Linked DNA regions of Homo sapiens: regions 1 and 2 are each linked to region 3. Evidence: promoter capture Hi-C in human tissues and cell types (Jung and others, 2019). All regions are on one chromosome and are shown on one strand. The core of a region is centred on a gene start or on the middle of the fragment in contact, and the rest is flanking DNA. Distances in the headings are between cores, read along the strand shown.

What was found. The method cuts DNA at HindIII sites, captures the fragments that hold promoters and counts their contacts. A contact is called where the count stands out against the background at its distance.
Region 1: a contact is called between a fragment that was not itself captured here and the fragment with the promoter of MAVS in region 3, in 1 of the 25 tissues and cell types used here (aorta).
Region 2: a fragment that was not itself captured here is called in contact with the fragment with the promoter of MAVS in region 3 in 1 of the 25 tissues and cell types used here (liver).

Annotation. Positions count from the first base shown.
Region 1 is chr20:3,979,690-3,983,120 of GRCh38, forward strand. All of the region lies in intron 1 of RNF24 (ring finger protein 24), which reads right to left. Among named protein-coding and RNA genes, the nearest start is that of RNF24, 34 kb to the right of the region's middle. The HindIII fragment of the contact is 6,490 bases long and covers 1-3,431 here.
Region 2 is chr20:3,649,614-3,653,120 of GRCh38, forward strand. ATRN (attractin) reads left to right here. Exons shown (of 29, transcript NM_139321.3): 29 at 1-1,505. Among named protein-coding and RNA genes, the nearest start is that of GFRA4, 12 kb to the right of the region's middle. The HindIII fragment of the contact is 6,966 bases long and covers 1-3,507 here.
Region 3 is chr20:3,845,103-3,848,427 of GRCh38, forward strand. MAVS (mitochondrial antiviral signaling protein) reads left to right here and starts at 1,732. Exons shown (of 7, transcript NM_020746.5): 1 at 1,732-1,801. RefSeq lists silencers at 1,149-1,198, 1,629-2,008. The HindIII fragment of the contact is 19,994 bases long and covers 1-3,325 here.

The DNA of each region.
Region 1 (3,431 bases), core at 346-2,845, 130 kb after region 3:
AATAAAATAAAATAAAATGACTTCTGTCTAGTAAGTAACTAAAACAAATCACAGACCATTTAGAAGTTAATCACATTGTGGGAAAAAAATCTCATACTGAGAGAAAAATCCATTACCTTCAACATGGGAAAAGTATTCTTACAGGCTACTGTGTAGGTGTATAAGTGTAACTGATCGTATTATCAATCTAAAAAAGAATAATGAAAATAAATGGACACAAGAATTCAATTCTGGAAAGTAGAAAAAGAACAAATCAAACAAAATAAGCCAGAAGAAGGAATTAATAAAGGTCAAACAAAAATGTATGAATTAAAACAAAACAATGAAAGGAATTGAAATCAACTAACCAAAACACTAAGAATGAGACAGATAAAAAAATTCTTATGCAGAGATTTAAAAACATCCATGAGATAATTTGAGTATTAATTTTAAATTCTAGAATAGATTTTATAGGAATATAACCAAAACTGGCTCAAGAAGAAAACTTGAAAATATAGAAATATCTTCACAAAAAAGGCTTCAGACCCCAATGGCAATGAAAGTGGAACTCGCTAAACTTGCATAGATAAGTAGTCTGCTATGTACAGTAGTCCCTGCTTATCGATGGTAGATATGTTCACAGACCCCCACTGGATGCCTGAAAACCCGGATAGCACCGAGTCCTACGTTTTTTTGAACTGATAACCAAGACCCTAATGGGCAGGTAGTGTACACAGCATGCAGACACTGGGCAGGGGATGATTCACGTCCTGGGTGAGATGCAGTGAGCACGACAGCTTGAGATTTCATTACACTACTCAGAATGGTGAATAATCGAAAACTTACAAATTGTTTTGGGAATTTTCCATTTAATATTTTCAGACTACAGTTGACCATGAGTAACTGAAACTGCAGAAAGCGAAACTGAAAATAAGGGCGAACTACTGTAAACTGATTCAGAGTATACAAAAAAATGATGGAAAGCATCCCAACTCATTTAAAGGTGTAAGCATAATCCTGAAACTAAAACCACAACTTTACAGCAGAGTTCATAAACTCAAGGCCTCTGGACTGAATCTGGCCTGAACAAGTATTTTGTTTGGCCTGTACAAAATTTTAAAGATTGAGATAATTTAGATTTGGGAGATTTAACATAAAATTAGCAATTTCCAGCTCTATACAGAAAAAGGTCAGATCTAATAACCCTGGGCTCCATTCTTACACGGCAAAAACAGCCTGGAGCTGAGTGGCCTCTGCTCCCAGGCTGCCATGTTGTTGCACAATTTGTGTGTGTGTGTTGGGGGGGGCAGGGGGAGGGGGCGGCCCTGAATGCTTATGGGTTACAGTGTAAGTGTGCCTGGCCCTATTGTCAACAGAATCGCCATTTGTCACCATTTCTACCACTCCTTATCACTTCCTAATTCTGGACCAGATGTAGGTTGCCACTTGTGCTTGGGCTGTTATTTTTCTCAACGTAAATATTTCTACCTCTATCAAAAAAAATAAAAGAAAAGAAATTGATGGTTTCATGATTTTGCCTTCTACCAAGTGTATTTGGCTGATTCAATTTCCTGCCTGGCTTCTGTTGGCACTGAGTTTGTGCCCCTGCTTTACGATTTCTATCTTTGGTTTCCCCACATCAGATGACAGAAATACCCACTTATATTCTCTTTTATTTGCATAGTTTTATGCCTTAAATTTAAATGTTTAATCCATCTTGAATTTATGGCATGGAAAAAAGACCTAAAATGGTTTTTCCAATTTAGTCAACTATTCCAACAGCATTTATAAAATTCTTTCTCCACTGTCTTAAAGTTCTACCTTTTTTGGAGTCACTTTTTTTCTTTTTTTTTTTTGAGACAGAGTCTCGCTCTGTCTCCAGGCTGGAGTGCAGTGGCACCATCTCGGCTGACTGCAACCTCCACCTCCCAGGTTCAATCAATACTCCTGCCTCAGCCTCCCGAGTAGCTGGGACTACAGGCATGCACCATCATGCCCAGCTAATTTTTTAATATTTTTACATACATACATTACATATGAATTAGCATACCACTAATTCATATATGCTAGGGCAATATTTTCAACACTACTCTTCCTCTTTAATATTTTCAAGGCTATTCTTACATAATCTTTTTTTCAGCTAAACCAGTCTTTAAAATATTCTATTGGGCCGGGCACACTAACTCACGCCTGTAATCCCAGCACTTGGGGAGGCAGAGATGGGCAGATCACTTGAGCTCAGGAGTTCAAGATCAGCCTGGACAACAGGTAAAACCCCGTCTCTACGAAAAATATAAAAATTAGCTGGGTATGGTGGTGCATGCCTATGGTCCCAGCGACTTAGTAGGGTGAGGTGGGAGGATCACCTGAGCCCAGGAGCAGTGAGCGCTAATCGCACCACTGCACTCCAGCCTGGGCAACAGGGTGAGACCTCGTCTCTCTCTCTCTCTCTCTCTCTCTCTCTCTCAATAAATAAATAAATAAATGCTATTGTGAAGTTAATTGAAAGTACATTAAATTTATAGCTTATTTTGGGGAGAATGGGTCTTGCTATGGTTTGAGTATCTGTCCCCTCCCAAACTCCTCTTGAAACCTAATAACAATTTTAACAGTATTAAGAGGTAGAGGGTTGGGCGCAGTGGCTCATGTCTGTAATCCCAGCACTTTGGGAGGCCGAGGCGGGCAGATCATGAGGTCAGGAGTTCGAAAGCAGCCTGGCCAACATGGTGAAACCCTGTCTCTACTAAAGATACAAAAAATTAGCCGGGCCTGGTGGTGCGTGCCTGTAATCCCAGCTACTCGGGAGGTTGAGGCAGGAGAATCGCCTGAACCCAGGAGGTGGAGGTTGCAGTGAGCCGAGATCGTGCCATTTTGCACTCTAGCCTAGGCAACAGGGTGAGACTCTGTCTCAAAAAAAAAAAAAAAAAAGAGGTGGGAGCCTGCTGCAGTGGCTCACACCTATAATCCCAGCACTTTGGGAGGCCAAGGTGGGAGGATCCCTTGAGCCCAAGAGTCCCTGACTAGCCTGGGCAACATAGGGAGACCCTGTCTCTACAAAATTAAAAAAATCAGTAGCCAGGTGTGGCGACACATGCCTGTGGTCCCAGCTACTTGGGATGTTGAGGTGGAAGGACTGCTTAGGCCCGGGAAGTCAAGGCTGCAATGAGCTGTGATTGTGCCAATGTATTCCATCCACCCTACATGACAGAGTGAGACCCTGTCTCTACAAACAAAGTGAGACCTTTAATAGGTGATTAGGCTATGAGGGATCTATCTTCATGAATGGATTAATGCCATTACCAAGGAAGTGGGTTCCTTATAAAAGGAAGAGTTCAGACCCCTTTTGTGTTTGTTTCTCTCTGTCTTTCCCCTTCTGCAATGTGATGCCCTCCACCATGTTATGATGCAGCAGGTACCTTGCCAGATGCCAGTATCTTGATCTTGAACTTCTT
Region 2 (3,507 bases), core at 472-2,971, 200 kb before region 3:
CTCAGGAAGCAGAGGCGTCCCTGCCGCTGCCCTTGGCCCTGCAAGCACATCATGACCCTTTCTGGCAGCCTCTTGGTGCTCTGGGTAGTGAGGGATGACCAGTCTTGTCCTGAGAAATGTTTCTCTTAGTCTTTAAGTTCAAAGACTAACCTGTAGCAATCAGACTTTCCAAAAGGGGGTTCTCCATTTTTTGTAGTTTTGTCTAAATTTTTAATGACCATTTCCTGGAATCAGTTTATTATACTGAAAACTGGGGGTGGGAGTAGGGAGCTAGTTTGTTGATAAATAGTTCCCATTTCCCCATGGAGAATTTGACATACCCTGGACTCCTGTGTGCCTCCTGCCATCCCTGCACACAGCCTGGGGAGAAGCCTGTGCCTCCCCGTGTGGAGAGAAGGCAACCCCAGATCCCCTGAGCTAACCCGGAGGAAAGGCAGTCCTGGACAGAAGACTGTCAGCAGAAGGAAAGTACTGGACTACCCGTGGGTAAGTCCTGCCATTCAAGACTGGAGACACCTGGGAAATAAAAAGAGCAGGGCACTGCTGGTGGGAAGAGGCATTTTACCTTCCAGTGCAAATCCTGCTCCTTTGATTTAATGGGGTGTACTGGGGCCAGGGGCTGATTCACTTCCTTGGGAGATGGTGGTGTTTTCATGAACATCTTTGATCCTTCCATTTCATTTATTCATCCATCCATTCAACAAGTATTTGCTAAACACTAACTTAAGCTAATGCTAGGGTAGTGACTGAGATGTAAAAATAGATTTTAGAATTAAAACAAAATCCAAGTCCTCACACCCCTGTCATCCCAGGAGATCTTTCCTTGTGGTGGTTTCTGTGAGAATTGGCCATCCTGAGGACACAGCCAGGACGGCAGAGGCCTCCTGGCCTCAGGGCATGCCCTGCCTACCTTCTGAAATGTTTACCCCATTGACCAAACTTGGCTCCAGCCATTGCGGTGGTTTCTAGATAGCCAGGCCCACCAAGAGATATTGCCCCTTGATGAGAGTCAAACACCCTGCCTACAAGGAGATGTTTTGAAATGGAGAGGAAAATTGGCACCTCATCTTTTAAAGGCAGTAATGGAATTGATTTTCAGTAACTGAATTTGTGCACAAAACATTCTAAACACTAGTGAAGCCTGTTTCGTTGAACTAATTCTGGCTCTGGAAATGTTTTTGTTTTATAGTTATTTACGATTTCGTTTGTTTGGATTCAAGCTTAGTTTGTTAATATGTATAATTTAGCATCTATTACACTCATGTAAATATGGAGTAAGTATTGTAAACTATTTCATCGCGGGGATTGTGGGTGTTATACATACATTTAGGACTGCAATTTTTTGGTATTTTTTGTATTGTAAAATAACAGCTAATTTAAGCAGGAACAAGAGAACTAAGGGAGGTCTGTGCATTTTAAACACAAATGTGAAGAACTTGTATATAAACAAAAGTAAATACTATAATACAAACTTCCTTCTGAAATAAAAGTAGATCTGGTAAAAATGTGGCTTTTGTTCTGAGTGTTTCATTTTGATTTTGCATTGTTTTGCCTATATTTACATTTTGGTCATTAGAACCTTAAGGGAAAAAAAAAAGCGTTTACCAGTTTTCAGACTGCGTCAGAGGGAGCACTTGACAGTTAACGGAGGTGAGGGTGAAAACCCCTGGCAGGTACCTCAGACAGCCCTCCAGGCAGCTTGTGAGCCACAGACCTTCCACACAGCCTTTGTGTGCCTACAGGGCAGCTGGGCCCGTGGGGGCAGGGACAGATCTGAGCAGTGAGGTATGGACAGCCGTCTCACTGCTCCACTAACCACACCACTGTCTCCAGTGGTGCTGTTATCCCTCCACTTTGCGCTCTCCTCACAGGCTCCTGAATGTCCTCTAGGTTGTCTCCAAACTGCTAAATCTCAGGTGTGCTGACAGGTCTCAGCCGTGGCCAGTGTTTTCCTCGGCCTTGAAGTTTTGAGGAAGTTACTCCCATTGGCAAGGCCTTGTTTGGGGGCCTCCTGTGTGTCCTGCCCCCTTTTATTTGGCTCCTGCCCTCAGAATGGGTCAGAGTCATGTATTTCAGTGCAGAGTGCAGATTCCCAGTGCTAGCAGTTCCTTCCAGAAGGATGAGGTCATTGAAAGAAGGAGGAAACACAAGACGGTCACTCCTGTAGGGGAAGATGGCAGGGTACTAGGGCCAGGGCCTGAGGTGAGGGCAGGAGCCTGGAGGAGGCCTGCCTACCAGAGCTCAGGTCTGGCTTAGGGAGGGAAATGGCTGGACTAGTGGCTGCAAACAAGTTGAGAAGGACCTTGAAACTCTTCCAGGGAGGGTTATGAGAGCCACCAACAGTAACAGGATAGAAACCCTGTGATTTGGTGGTACTGTGGCAGAGACAATGCTGTGTTTACCAAACCTACTGGGCCCACAGCTCATCATTTCCCAGCCTCCCTGCAGTTAGGTTGGGACCAAGCTAAGCCATGGCCAAGGAAAGGTTGGAAGAAGTGATGGGCACCAATTCCAAACGTGGCACACAAATGCTCCCACAGGGGACTCTCCTACGGATCACATGTTAAAGACTGGAGGGACTGTGGGTCCCTGAGTCACCCCTTAGAGGCCGGCCGCCTGATCAGTAAGAGCTGTGCTGGCCTTTGCATCACTGGAAAGCAAACTCACTCTGCTGATCCACTGAGATTTGGGGCTTTGTTACACTAGTTAGCTTTTCTTATTCTCACTAATATACAAATCAGCACTTTGAAGTGCAGTGCACATGTAACCAAACCCTTAAGTACATGGCACTGGCTCAGCGTGTGGCCAGGTGGCGAGCAGTGATAAGACAGGTGCAGCTGGCAGGACAACTGAGGTCCCTGCCAGGCGGAGCAAAACATCTGGTAAGGCCGTTTCACTCGATAACTCGGAAAACAAACTCCATGTCTGCTGACTTTTTGACTTGAGGGGAATAAACAACAACAACAACAACAAATATGTGTTGATTGTTACTGGCTGCTTTTGGCGAGGCATCACGAGAAAAAGTTTACTTCAAGAAAGAATTAGCCAGTTTACAAGCAGAAGGGAAAAAGATGGAAAGATGTTAACCAGGGCCTTGCAATTCTGGAAAAGCCAACTGCTTCTAGTCTCCAACCAGTAAGAGGTGCAGGTGAGCAACAAAGGCCCCATGAGACTTAGTTGAACACAGTGACTGGGCCTCATGGTGACCATCCAATGAAGGGTGTGGTCTTCCCACTGGAGCATGGAAACTGCAAAGCCACCAGCTTGAGGGAGGGGCACGTGGTTAAGGAAGCAAAGAAAAAGCTGACATGAGAACTGTTTCCAGGAACAAACCATGAATGTAGTCACTGACCCTGGACCTGCCTGGAAATAAATAAAGATGTAGTAAATTTAAGAAACCATTAGCAAAGCCTTAAAAAAAAAAAAAAAAAAAAAAAAAAACGGTGGCAATTGAGGAAGTCTTAAATCCACCTTCAGGCAGGAAAATGGTTGTGAAAGCTGTGTCCA
Region 3 (3,325 bases), core at 482-2,981:
CGGGCGTGGTGACATGCGCCTGTAGTCCCAGCTACTCGTGAGGCTGAGGCAGGAGAATCACTTGAACCCGGGAGGCGGAGGTTGCAGTGAGCCGAGATTGGGCCACTGCACTCCAGCCTGGGTGAAAGAGTGAGATTCTGTTTCAAAAAAAAAAAAAAAAAAAAAAAAGAGAAATGTGGCTCGTGGGTCTCAGGAACTGGCTTCTAAGTATTATTTAATTTTAATTAAAATAGCTACATGTGGCTAGTAGCCATTGTATTGGATAGGACAGCTGTCAAATGTCTCTCGTTTTGGGTTTGCTTACTGTTTCCCTATGATTAGTTTCAGATCATGAGCTTTTGATAGGAATACCATAAGCATGTTGTTGTGTTCTTCTTTGTCTAAATCTTTATAAAAGCTGTTGATAGGTGGCAGGGAACCACCTAGTCAGGCAGTGGGATTGTTTGAATGCTCTTTGAGGTCCAGCAAAGACAGGAGTGATAGCTGCACTTGGAAGCCCGCTCCTACACTTTCAATGTTCTTCCTGAAAGAATTAGATATGAAGCTGCTAGAGCTGCTCCGGTGGGGAGCAGGCAGGATTGATTCTTGAACTAATCAACATTTATGCCCTCTTGGCTAAACTAGGCAGAGCTGGTTTTATTACAGTTCAGGTGTGATTAAGCATACTTTGTAAATGCTGAAGGTTGTGAAATATTCACAGGGATATAAAGTACAGTAATAAAACCTCACTTGAGGCTGGGCGTAGTGGCTCACGCCTGTAATCCCAGCACTTTGGGAGGCCGAGGTGGGAGGATCACCTGAGGTCAGGAGTTTGAGACCAGCCTGGCCAACATGGTGAAACTCCGTCTCTACTAAAAATACAAAAATTAGCCGGGCGCAGTGGCATGTGCCTGTAATCTCAGCTACTTGGGAGGCTGAGGCAGGAGAATTGCTTGAACCCAGGAGGTGGAGGTTGCAGTGAGCCGAGATCGCGCCATTGTACTCCAGCCTGGGCGACAGAGCATGACTCTGTCTCAAAAAAAAAAAAAAAAAAAAAGAATAGAAGACCCTGTGCCTGGAAGATCGTAGGTGCTCAGTAAGTGCTGGCCTCTGCCCCAGAAGGGGAAGGGCGAGGCAGATGGCAGGAACTGCGGGAGGTACCTGTCCCAGGCCCTTGGGCGTAAGAGGCCTCTCCCACGCAGCACCCAACCCATACCCAGCCTGCCCGCCAGCCAACCTTGGCGTCCCTGCCTTGCGCCTACCTACCCAGCAGTCCCCCGCCCGCTCCCACTCCCACAGGCCCAGCGTGCACGTCTCCAGGATAGGCATCCTTGCCCCTGTGACTTCAGCGGCACCCAACGTTTATTGGGCACTAACTGTATGCCAGGCCATGGGGGTGCCGGAGAGAACGACACGAAGACCCTCACCCCTCAAAGTTCCCAGGGGGAGGAGGGGCTGCTTCACTTGGGAAGCGTGGGGATGGAATTCTCAGCCCCCCGATGACTCCGAGGCCGGCCACCTGCCTGGTTTCTGGCCGGACACCGGACTTCCCCTGGAAGTTGCTCGAGACTGCGCGCCCCCAGCAAAAAATCAGGTCGGTTCTCCGAGCCCAGTCTAGCGCTTCCCGACCCGCAAACCAAGGCCCAGTGACCGTCCCCGCTGCGCAGCCGCCTGCGTCGCCAGCCAACCACGCGCGGCCGAGTAGCCCCGCCCCTCCACATGGCCAATGGCCGCGCGCTCTGCCCGCCCCGCCTCCTCGCTGCGGGAAGGGTCCTGGGCCCCGGGCGGCGGTCGCCAGGTCTCAGGGCCGGGGGTACCCGAGGTAAGATCGCTTCCCGGGCGTTGGGTCCTTTCGGCTCAGCACGCACGGACGCCTTTAGGGAAGGTGGCTGCAGCGGCAGGACGGAGTCCGCCGGGACGCCCTGGGTCTGGGGTGCGCGGGGGGCCCAGGAGGGGACAGGACGCGCGGGGATCCGGAAGAGCGGGCCCTGTCGCAAGAGTTTCGGGAACACTGAGGGCTCCAGGCGCCGCATCCAGCATCCGGGGAAAAGGGGGTAGGTGGCGCTGGGCGTCTGCTCAGGCTGGGGGAAAGGTAGGGCCAGAAGGGGACGGGCAGCGGCCGCTGACCTCCTCCTGCCGCCCGCGGGCCCAGGGTGACGCTAAGGTGGGGCCGAGCCTCGACCGGGTGCGCCTAGAGGTCGAGTGCTGCCGCCCTCCGCTGGGTCTGGACAGTTCTCGGCGGCGACACCAGCTCAAAACGGCCTCCCCGCCCTCCGCGGACCTGGGTCGCGCCCAGGAATCCGATCCAAGGCTGTGAGGCCTGTCCCTTTGGGAAGGGTGGGTGTTTATTTCCGGGATGCACTCAGAGCCTCTGGACAGTCAGGTCGGAAACTTTGCTGTATTGGGAACACTCTGTCACCTACTTCCTTCTCAGTTGGGAAGGAAGTGCCAAGAAAACATGAAACAAACCAAAAACACGAAAAAGGGATTCTCTGTATGGAAGCCGTGAAGCCTCAAAAATATCTAGGAGGACAGCCAGCGACCTGGGACCTGTGGCAGCCATGTGAAAGCAGGGTTAATGTCTGGACTAAATGTTGCTTCCACCTAAGTGCACCCTCAGCCTCCCTCCCGCCAAGTGACCTTGGGTCCTCTTTGGGCTTGAAGGCAGGTGGCTGTGTGGGTCTCGCTGCAGGGGTCTCTGTGCCCTGCAAGGTGTATGACCAGTTGCAGTGAGGCAGCAGGTTTTGGGTTCAAATCCTGTGCTAGCCTCTGGCCAGCTGTGCACCTTGGCAACACTTTCCCTGTCACGGGATTGGGGAAGGATTAACTGAAAGAACCTTAGGATGTGCCTGTCTACAATGGGCCCTCCATAAATGTGAACAAATGTGGGCTTCCTTTCCTTTTGTTTGGGCCACATCATCCCTTCCCCTCCATCTGTGGCTGAAGCTGGAATGCAGAAGAGTGCCTCATCTGACTGCCTTCTGGTACCTGGCTGATGCCATGAGAAAGGAAGGAGAAAGGGGTCTTTTTTTTTTTGAAATGGAGTCTCACTCTCTTGCCCAGGCTGGAGCGCAGTGGTCCAATCTTGGCTCACTGCAACCTCTGCCTCCTGGGTCTAGAGATTCTCCTGCCTCAGCCTCCTGAGTAGCTGGGACTACAGGTGTGTGCCACCATGCCTGGCTAATTTTTGCATTTTTAGTAGAGACGGGGTTTCACCATGTTGGCCAGGCTGGTCTCAAACTCCTGACCTCAAGTGATCTGCCTGCCTCGGCCTCCCAAAGTGCTGGGATTCCAGGCGTGAGCCACCGCGCCCGGCCGAGAAAGGGATCTATTAACTCCCATAGAG